Regions from separate parts of the Homo sapiens genome. Here region 2 is linked to region 1. Evidence: promoter capture Hi-C in human tissues and cell types (Jung and others, 2019). All regions are on one chromosome and are shown on one strand. Each heading gives the region's core, a stretch centred on a gene start or on the middle of the fragment in contact. The rest is flanking DNA. Distances are from core to core; before and after follow the strand shown.

What was found. The method cuts DNA at HindIII sites, captures the fragments that hold promoters and counts their contacts. A contact is called where the count stands out against the background at its distance.
Region 2: a fragment that was not itself captured here is called in contact with the fragment with the promoter of COL22A1 in region 1 in 2 of the 25 tissues and cell types used here (bladder and spleen).

Annotation. Positions count from the first base shown.
Region 1 is chr8:138,910,886-138,916,317 of GRCh38, reverse strand. It overlaps COL22A1 (collagen type XXII alpha 1 chain), which reads left to right and starts at 2,277. Exons shown (of 65, transcript NM_152888.3): 1 at 2,277-2,699. RefSeq lists an enhancer at 2,331-3,176. The HindIII fragment of the contact is 9,946 bases long and covers 1-5,432 here.
Region 2 is chr8:138,952,557-138,957,552 of GRCh38, reverse strand. No RefSeq gene overlaps it. Among named protein-coding and RNA genes, the nearest start is that of COL22A1, 41 kb to the right of the region's middle. RefSeq lists enhancers at 2,616-3,304, 3,995-4,683. The HindIII fragment of the contact is 8,715 bases long and covers 1-4,996 here.

The DNA.
Region 1 (5,432 bases), core at 1,028-3,527:
GCCCTGGCCATGCTCCTGCCCCTCTAAGGCACTTCTGTGACTCCTGGTCCTCAGGACCAAGTCTGTCCCCTCAGCAGGCCTTGCCAGCCCCCTCATCTGTGCCCTGCTCCTCACCCAGCCTTGTCCCTGGCCATGGCCCTCCACAGGTCCCAGGGCACAGGAGACTCGACTCTCCACGGGCTCAAGTCTTTCCCTCTGCCTGGTGAGCTCCCAATTCCCCTTCCAGCCCTGATTCCAGGGCCTCCTCCTCTGCATGGTGGCTTTGCCCATTCTTCAGTCTTCCACCTGCTCAGCACACCTCTCCTTAGCCCTGAATATAGGGTTTGCACCCCTTACTTTGTTCTCTGACTCATCTTTTTTTTTCTTCATAGCACTTATTATAACTTATTGTAATTTAATGTTGTGGTCTCATCCCTCTTTTCTGTCTGTGTTCCCACTAGTGTTACCGGAAAAGGATCCCAATCCAGACTCCAGGAGAAGAATTCAAGGCAAGTTCATAAAGTGAAAGCAAATTTATTAGGGAAGTAAAGAAACAAAAGGATGGCTATTGCAGGCAGGGCAGTGGCACGGGCTGCTCGACCAGATATACTTATAGTTCTTTCTTGATTACATGCTAAACAAGGGGTGGATTATTAGTGAGTTTTCTGGGAAAGGGGAGGGGATTTCCCAGAACTGAGGGAAACTTTTAGACCACATAGGGTAGCGTCTGGACGTTGTCATGACATTTGTAACCTGTCATTGCACTGGTGGGAGTGTCTATTAGCATGGTAATGCATTATAATCAGCATATAATCAGCAGTGAGAATGACCAGAGGTCACCATCTTGGTTTTGGTGGGTTTTGGCCAGCCTCTTTATTGCAACCTGTTTTATCAGTGGGGCCTCTGTGGCCTGTGTCTTGTACCTACCTCCTATGTCATTCTGTGACAAGAACGCCAAACCTGCTGGAAATGCAGCCCAGTAGGTCTCAGCCTCATTTTATCCAGCCCCTATTCAAGATGGAGTTGCTCTGGTTCAATGCCTCTGACACTAGTGTGCCCAGAGGCGCACGCGCTGGGCTCTCGCAGGTGCAATCATTCTCTTCTCTGCGTCCCGCCCTCCTGGTAACTGACAAGCACCCATCTCAGCCCCTCACCTTTCTCGTGATACGGCCAGCCCTCTCTTCTACTTGATGGGCACCTGACATGGTGAGGGTGGTGGGGTTCAGTCAACACATGTGAAATGAATTTCCACAAGAGTGGCTGGAAAACAAGACCGGAGAGGGAGGAAGCAGCTGGATTTTTGAGCTCCCTGGGTCACAGAGGAGCCCGATACTGCCTGTTTATGAAATCGTTGCTACCCAGCAGGCAACCAAATAAAGACACCCCAGAGTTTAGGAGACAGATTGGGAGCTGGGGGTGGGGGAGGTCACACAGATTAAACCATGTTCTCATCTAGTTCAAAATACTCCTGCCTGGCCCATTTTTAGGAACAGTGCTCAGAAAGAAAAAGTAGAAGGGTGCCCCGGGCCTGCACCTGTTCATGGTCTGCCTTTGGGGGCTGGAAAGCCCATTAGCCAGGCGAGTGTCCTCATCAGGCCAACGTGGGCCCATATCCCTGCTCTGCTGGGGGCGCTGGCAGACTATAAAGGCTCTCTCCGAGGCTTCACTGTCCTCATCCCAAAAAGAAGGACGCGATGCCCCTGTCCTCAGAGCTGAAGTCACAGCCAGTGAACAGGGCTGCCTGTAGGTGGAGCCCCTGGCACAGAGGGGTGCGCGTTACCTGCTCTCACCTGCTCAGACAGGAGGGGGCCTCTCAGATCTGGAAAAAGAGCCAAGCGCGCCCCCTCCCCAGGCCCCCTGGTGGCGCCAAACTTCCCAAAGTTTCGGGCAGCTGCGGCACTAGTCGGTGGTCTATTTCAGACCCGCTGGAAAAGGGAGCAGAGTATCAGTGAAGTCTATAATTGGACAGAAAGTTGTCAGCCCCTCTTTTGGGCTTCCCAGGGCCACCTCGTTACTGCCTGGACCCTAACGCTGTCCAGTCCCCCACAGCCCTCCCGAGGTCCCTGCCCACCTTTCCCCGCAGCCCCTCGCCACTGTCCGGGGCCTCGTCGGCCTCTCTCGTTTTCTCTGGGGTCCGCCCCTGCACCTCCGGCCCCTCCCCGCTCCCAGCCCCCTGATTTTCCTCCTCCTTCGCGGCTTGGCCCCCGCCCGCTCCCGCCCCGAGCTCCTAGGCCCGCCCCCGCCCCAGCTCCTCCCCAGCCCCGCGCTCTTAGCCGGGGAATCCCAGCGCTGAGGCCAGCTTGCCCCTGGGGAGGCTCCAGACAGCTTTGTTCCTGGGCAGTGGCGGGGCTGGCCGAGGCTGCGGCGTTTCTCCCCAAGGAAGTGTCTTCTCCGCTTTCCCTGTTCTTCTGTTTCTCACACACTTTCTATCTCATTCTGTAACTTTCAAGCCTTTCCTTCTAACTGTATGTATTTAGTTACTTGTTTTCAAGCTGGTTCCCTCTCTGGCCCCCTGGCCTGGGGAAAGCCTCCACACTTACTGCGGGTCTTGTTTAGAGTCTGAGTTTGTGAGATTATTTGGGGGAGAGTGGGCGAGTGGCTGACAGGTGACCCCCAGGAGGAGGATTCCTGGGGCTGGTGTCTTCTCCCAGCTGCTGCTTCCAGTGGGCCTGGGCCCAGGACTGGACCTCCGCTGGCACCCCTGAGTGCCTCCCTGCCAGGTAAGACCCGGGTTCTCTTCTTTGCTGCAGTGCTGAAGGTCACAGACTTCAGCTGACGCCCATCTTCCCAGATGACAGTGAGGGACGAGAGGCGGGGGGTGGATGCGGGCTGGGGAGATGTTCTCTCCAAATACAGACGCGTTTCCTTCTGAAGCCTGAGCACACTTCGCTCTTTAGGGAGTGACTATAGTTGGAAGCAGATGTGTCTGTGTCTTGACTTAACTTCAGAGTAAAATAGCGGCAAATCCGTGAGAACACACCTGTTTGATTCTAGCTGAGCAGCGAGGAGCTCAGCGATGGCCGCCGAGAGTCAAATGCGAGAGCTTGTTTTCAGATTGCTATAATACTTTAAAGTAGTTGAGATGTACCAGCTCTTTAAACTTTCAAGTAAGAAGTTTGCAGTAAAAGGAGAAAAAGATGCGGGGGAAATGGAGCAGGGGGTGGGGAAAGAATAGTCTTCGTTTGGTTTTACATTTACTGTCAGGGAACTTAGCTTTCTTGATCTAAATTTAGATCTCATTTCTATTTGAGCATTTTATCCCCCCTCTCCCAGCCTTCTCTAGGTCAGAGAGGTGTTTTTGTCCTTCCCCCAATCCCTGCGTATCATGTTCTGTAGCAGACCAGAGTTTCGTGTGCCACTTTATTGAGCACGATTTGAATTAGCTGTGTTATTGGAAAATGAGTCCTCACTTCTCCCCACTCAAGGCAAGACTCAGGGATGACAGGTGGACATGCTTATCAACCATCTGCAGAAGGAGGCACCGCCTGCCGGCCTGTTCCAGAGCTGTGTGCCGGGTCCCCCTCCTCAGAACTTCATTCCATGACTTGTCATCTTCCAGAGCCCCATCCTGACACTTTTTTTTTTTTTGAGGCCGAGTTTCACTCTTGTTTCCCAGGCTGGAGTACAATGGTGCGAGGTGCAGCCTCGGCTCACTGTGACCTCTGCCTCCCGGGTTCAAGCGATTCTCCTCCTGACTCAGCCTCCTGAGTAGCTAGGATTACAGGCATGAGCTACCATGCCCGGCTAATTTTATATTTTTAGTAGAGATGCGGTTTCTCCATGTTGGTCAGACTGGTCTCCAACTCCCGACCTCAGGTGATCCGCCCACCTTGGCCTCCCAGAGTGCTGGGGTTACAGGCATGAGCCACCACGCCTGGGCCCATGCCGACACTCCTATGTCTACGTGGGTCTTTCTCACTCCTAATCTGTCTCTCATTGATGATTTCTACCAGGCAAATCATGGAAAGCTGAAGGCCACATCTTCAGGCTCCTGGTTAAGTTCAAAGGTTCCAGGAAAATTTGAAATTGCAGGGCTTCATTTTTGTTAGAGGCCTGCTGCATGGGGTACGCTGCCCAGCTGCATGCAAGTTGCAGTTGAAGGATGTGAGCTTTGCTGCTAGTCTTGTCTTCCAGTGCTAACTCTGTTGCTCTCTTTGGCTGCCCTGGGTCAAGCAGCTATCCTCAGTGAGCCTCAATTTTCTCTTTTGCTGATGGAGCTGATGGAAGAGATAGAGATAGATAACACAAGAGGCATCTGGTACGTGGTGAGCATGCAATATATCTTAGTTTGCTTCTGTTTCACACACCTGGGGAGCTTCAGCAGGAAGCACCCCCACCTCATTCTAGATTTCCTTGTCGCTGTGCTACTGAGGCACTGCGCAACTGTGGGAAATGGTCACTTTGATATTGTTGGGCCTGTCTTATTAGACAAGATGCTGCATCCAATGAGGATTTTCTTTCCTGGGGTCCAAGAGTGGCTCCCAGGGATCCATGCATCCTTTAAAACATTTGGAGCAGAAGTTTGTGTCTGGTTTTTCTGTGGTTTGGTCAAACTTTCATCAGATTCACGAAAGGTTTTATACCTACAAAATGATTAAGTAAATGGCCCCTAAACGGATGCAGTCCACAGACAGTTTTAAGGCTTTGTGTGTAGTTTCAGTTATTGCCAACATAAAATGATCAGGAGATTTCATGTTACAAATCTTAGTCTCTGGTTTCTCTTTTGGCTGGAATCCCTGCAAGGCTGTCCATGGCTGGGGTGAGGATTAGCCATCCCCTTTAGACAAGGCATGTGCCCTCTGGTCATCCGCTGTCATCTGTGTGACCTGCAGGGCCTCTGAAGACCTGGGAGCTTGCTTGCTCTGAGTTAGAAGATCAGGGTTATCTCTCTCTGATTTCATTGTAAGAGGGTCACAGATAAGTGGAAGTGCATTTAGAGGAGACAAATCAGGCTTTCCTGGGAATAGAAGTCATAGCTTATGTGGAAGGATACTACCATAGAAAGGTCTTCTAGTGCAGAGAAGACAGTGGCCCCAGCCATTTGGAGGGCTGCCCTGTAGAAGAGGCAGCTGGTCTGCTGTCTTGGTCCCCAGAGGGTCCAGCTAAAAGGATGAGTGGAGGAGCTTCACTGGATGTTGGAGTCCAGTTCAGTTGGAAGACCTTTCCAAAGACAAGAGGGATTGATTCATTAGGGAGTGAGTCCCCCACTACAGGAGGCATTCAGACAGATGGGATGGCTGTTGTAAGGCTGATCTAAACCTGGAATGCTTGAGCTAGGTAAGCTTTTAAGGTCCTTCCTAGCTTGAGATACTGCAATTACCAAGCACTTCCCTTCCAGCCTTAATAGTCTGCTGGTCCCCTCCTGCATCCCTCTCTTCCTTCGAAGGTGCTTATGATGTTTTTGATAGAGGTCAACATGGGTGGTGTGGTTACTATGGGCCAGGACCATGGAC
Region 2 (4,996 bases), core at 801-3,300, 41 kb before region 1:
ACTGTTCAACAAGTGGGACGGAGTGTTACAGCTATTTTACTCCCACCGCCCACAGCTCGGTGAGCAGCAGCACTGCAGCTCTTTTGCTCTCGTAGTTCAGTGACTTCCGGGTTTTTGTACCGTGACCAAGAGGAATAAGGTATATGAACACTGGAGAGTGAGTAAGGCAGAGTAGAATTTTACGGAGTGACAGAAAGAAAGCTCTGAGCATCAAGAGGGGACCCAAAAGCAGGCAGTCGCCTGTGAGTCTGAGTCCAGGATTTTTATGGGCTTAGAATGGGGAAGTGCATGCTGATTGGTCCATGGGTGGGCTTAGAAAAAGCACCATTCAATTGGTTAAAAGGCATCATTCAGAAGGTACCAATAGAGAGAGTAGGTAAGACTGGGATGGAAGTTCTCATTCTAGTTGTGGACTCTATCTGGAAGTGGCAGCTCAGTTTTCAGGCTTTAAACCGTCCTTGGCTTGAAGGTCAGGTTTCACCGGGAACCCACCTCTGTCTGCCTAGGAATCTGTCAGTCTCCTGTTGCTACCAGCATCAGGGTTGTTTCCCCCTTCTCATCAAACTGCATGCCATGTGCCAGATGCAGGTTACAACTGAAAGGTAGGTTCCATCAGAAAACAGAAACCAAGCAGAAAGGATTTAAAGTAGGTGTATTTGTATTTTAGGACTGTCATAACAAAGCACCACAAATGAATGGCTTAACAAACAGAAATTGATTCTCTCACAGTTCTGGAGGCCTGAAGTTCAAGATCAAGGTATCAGCAGGGTTAGTTCCTTCTGGGGCTGTGACAGGGAATCTGTCCTAGGCCTCTCCCCAGCTCCTGAAGGTTTTCTGGCCATCTTTGGTGTTCTTTGGGTTGCAGAGGTATCACTCTGATGTCTGCCCTCATCTTCACACAGTGTTCTACCTGTCTCCATGTTTCTCCTTTCCATAAGGACACCAGTCTTTATTGGATTAGGGACCCACCCTATTTCAGGGTAACCTCATTTTGACTAGTTACATCTGCAACTAGCTACTCCCAAATAAGGTCACATTCTGAGGTCCTGGTGGGGTAGGGCTTCAATAAATGGACTTTCGTGGGGGATACAATTTAACTCCTGAGAGTAAGGAATTTATTGCATAGATAACAGTTAGCTGAGCTGCCAAAGAGGAGAGAGATCAGCCCCCGCAGGAAGGTATTGCTATCTCTGTGGAGTCCTAATTAAAGGAAAAGAGTCAGGCTGGCAGAACCAGGGGAAAGCAAAGAGATAAAGCAAATAAGCTACAGGTCTGCCTTTCTTTATGGCCCAGGATGTATAGCCCTCCTGCACAGATAATGTTCATAACTCACAAACTTTCTGTTTATCCTCAAATGCTTCATTTTATCATCAAACATCTCCTTGGTGAACAGAAGAATGCAAGTTAGCTCCCTGCTGCCGTGGCATTATCAATCAACCCAAGAGCCGTCCTATAAAATCTCCAGCAAGTCTTTGTTTCCTGGCAGTCAGCTCCTCTTCTGCTGATTCTGCCCATTGCTCCTTGGCAACGTATTTTCCTACTTTGTCTAATAAATCTGACTTTCTTTACCTACAATTATCTTGGTAAATTCTTTTAACCCCTCACCACTGGCACCGATAGATGCTGCTTACCCACAACAACCTTGACCAGGAAGAACCAAGAGGTGGTATTTGTTGAACCTGGAGATTAGGGTTTCCTAGCAGCAGCTAAAACCATGGCAGCTGCCACGGATCTGGCACTGTGGAGGAGACGCAGTTCTGGCCAGAAAGGCTACCAAAAGTAAGAGTAAAGGGGAGAAATACCCTGGCTTCTCCCTTCCTGCTGCCTTCCAGTCTTCCTGTTGGCCTCATGTGGGAAGCCAGGAACCAGGGCGTCTGCGAAATGCAGTGCCCTGCAATGCCCTTGAGGATGTGAAGGGGAGGTCATGGATCTGAGAGCAAGGAGACCACAGTCAGCGCCATGCTTTTGCGTGCGTGCCCTCATCAGCCTTCCCAACGTCCACGTGGGGGAGGAATCACAGCCTTCATTTTACACATGAGGAAACCAAGACTCAGAACTCTTGAATACCTTACCCAAGGTCCCAAAGCCAGAATTCTGCATCAGAGCAGAATTCAAACTCGTTCCTGGTTGGCTCCAAGGCTGTGCTTTTTCTACTGCACTGGATCAGTCAGTTGAATGGCAGGATTGCACGTAATTCACACATTATCCTTCCCGGGACCTAGCACAATATCTACCGCATATCAGACATCGATAAATGGTGACCAAAATATAAATGGTAGTAAGTGATTCATTACCAAATAAATAGCAAAAATGGCAGGTGGTTTGGAATTTAGGGAAGAGGGAGAATGGTGTTAGCCAGAGTGGTTTCTGTAGGCAGAATATGAAATTGGAGCTGGTCTTGTGCCATAAGATACCAGAAGGACAGTGTCGGTGCAAAGAGTCAAACTCTGTAAAACCTTTGAAGAGATTGATTCTGAGCCAAATATGAGTGACCATGGCCTGTGACACAGCCCTCAGGAGGTCCTGAGAACATGTACCCATGATGGTCAGGGTGCAGCTTGGTTTTATACATTTTAGGAAGGCATGAGACACCAATTAAGTACATTTAAGAAATATTAGGTTGGTGCAAAAGTAATTGCAGTTTTCACCATTACTTTTTATTTAATTTAACCTGAGAGATTGTTTTAATGGCAAAAATTGCAATTACTTTTGTAATACATTGGGTTTGGTCCAGAAAGGCAGGAAAACTCGGGGTGGTGGTGGGGTGGTTATAGGTAAATTTAAACATTTTCTGGTTGACAATTGGTTGAGTTTGTCTAAAGACCTGAGATCAAACAGAAAAGAATGTCTGGGTTAGGATAAGAGGTTGTACAGACCAGAGTTTTATCATGCTGATGAAGCTTTTAGCTAGCAGGCTTCAGAGAGAATAGGCTGCAAACTGTTCCTTATCAGACTTAACGTCTGTGTTGATGTTAACGCTGGAGGGGTATAATGAGGCAAGTGGGACCCCCATTTCCTGTCATAGCCTGAAACAGTCTCTCAGGTTAATTTTTTTTTTTTTTTTTTTTTTTTTGAGACAGAGTCTGGCTCTTTTGTCACCCAGGCTGGAGTGCCGTGGCACGATCTCAGCTCCCTGCAACCTCAGCCTCCCTAGTTCAAGTGATTCTCTTGCCTCAGCCTCCCAAGTAGTTGGGATTACAGGCGCCCACCTCCACGCCTGGCTGCTTTTAGTATTTTTAGTAGAGACAGGGTTTCACCATGTTGGCCAGGCTGGTCTTGAACTCCTGACCTTCAGTGATCCACTTGCCTTGTCCTCCCAAAGTGCTGGGATTACAGGCATGAACCACTGCATCCAGCTCTCTCAGATTAAATTTAAAGAGCCCTGGTTTAGGAGGGTGTCCATTCAGATGATTAGGGGGCCCTATTTTATTTTTGGTTTACAACAGCGTTCTCTAGCTTGTGCAGTTGTACTTGTTTCGGCTCGGATGATGGCCTCAGCAAGTTCTTTCCTCAGTTTCCCTCCCAGGCCTCATTTCCTTTATCTAATAAATGTGGGCTGTTTTAAAGCAGAGGTTGTAAACTCAAATTTACAAATAGGCCAGCAGGTGTTTAAAGTGAGAAAGAGGCAATGACAGAAATGCCAGCGTGAGGATGGGGAAACCACAGGGGTGGAACTTACTGTGGCAAATTCTGATGCACCCACTCTCCCAGGGGCAGCTCCTCAGCTCTAGCCCACTGTGGCTTGTGGAACGTGTGTGCTCATTGTGGCCTTACACACGGCTTCCTCCAGAGAATCTGGGTATGTGAGTTTGAATGTGAAAATGCAACATCCTTCAGTGATGGTAATTAATTCAGATTTTTAAAATGCCATGTGAGCAATAATAACTGTAATGATATGAATGATCACCTTAAAGGCCAAGTGTGACCTGCAGGCTACTGGTTCTGCCCTTCTCTCCCCAAAACCTGACAGGGTGTCCTGCCAAGCAGGCCTTTTGGTGGCCCTCATCTCACCACTGTGCCTTTGGGAGGGGCTGATATTTTGTTATTTAGCTTTCAGAGAGAGAGAGGAAGGGAGAGAGGTTTGTGCTCCCTGCCCCTGAAGGTTGAGATCTTGCTGCCTGGAGCTGACAAGCTCTTGACTGCCCCCAGCTCAGTTAGTCTTCAAAGGGCTGCTTAATTGTTCTTGGACTGGCTCCAGGGAGCATCTGGCTCTTTGCTGGTGTCTGTTTACAGATTTTCCACATATTCTAATTGTGTTGCTCAACCTCAGAAAAGTGGACTCAGGCTCAGGCTGAACCTGCATCCTAGAGGGAGAGGGTCAGGAGCTGAAAGAGCCTATCAGAGCCCTGGTGAGGGAGGAGAGAAAAGGTTGAGTGGGGCAGGAGGGATGGCCCTGACCACCTTTTCCTGCTTCAGACATCAGCAGCAATGACCAAAGCAGTGTGCATTCCTTTGTGGTGTGCTCACCACCCCCGCCAGGCCCCTCACCTATGTCATCCTAATTCATCCTCACAGTAACCCTGTTGTTGAGGCATTGCTATTTCCCCATTTTGCAAAGGGTGAAATTACAGCATAGAGAGGTTAATGTCTTGCCTAAGGAAACTGGTTTTTAACTCTCAGGGCTGCCAAAGTGAGTCATCTTCTGGATTGTCCACGTGGCTTCCAGTGTCAGGTAATGGAAGACTTGGCCCTCACACCGCTCTGTATGGTCCTTCCTTTCAGCATCCCCAGGGTTTTAACCACGTGGCTTCCAGTGTCAGGTAATGGAAGACTTGGCCCTCACACCGCTCTGTATGGTCCTTCCTTTCAGCATCCCCAGGGTTTTAACCACGTGGCTTCCAGTGTCAGGTAATGGAAGACTTGGCCCTCACACCGCTCTGTATGGTCCTTCCTTTCAGCATCCCCAGGGTTTTAACCACGTGGCTTCCAGTGTCAGGTAATGGAAGACTTGGCCCTCACACCGCTCTGTATGGTCCTTCCTTTCAGCATCCCCAGG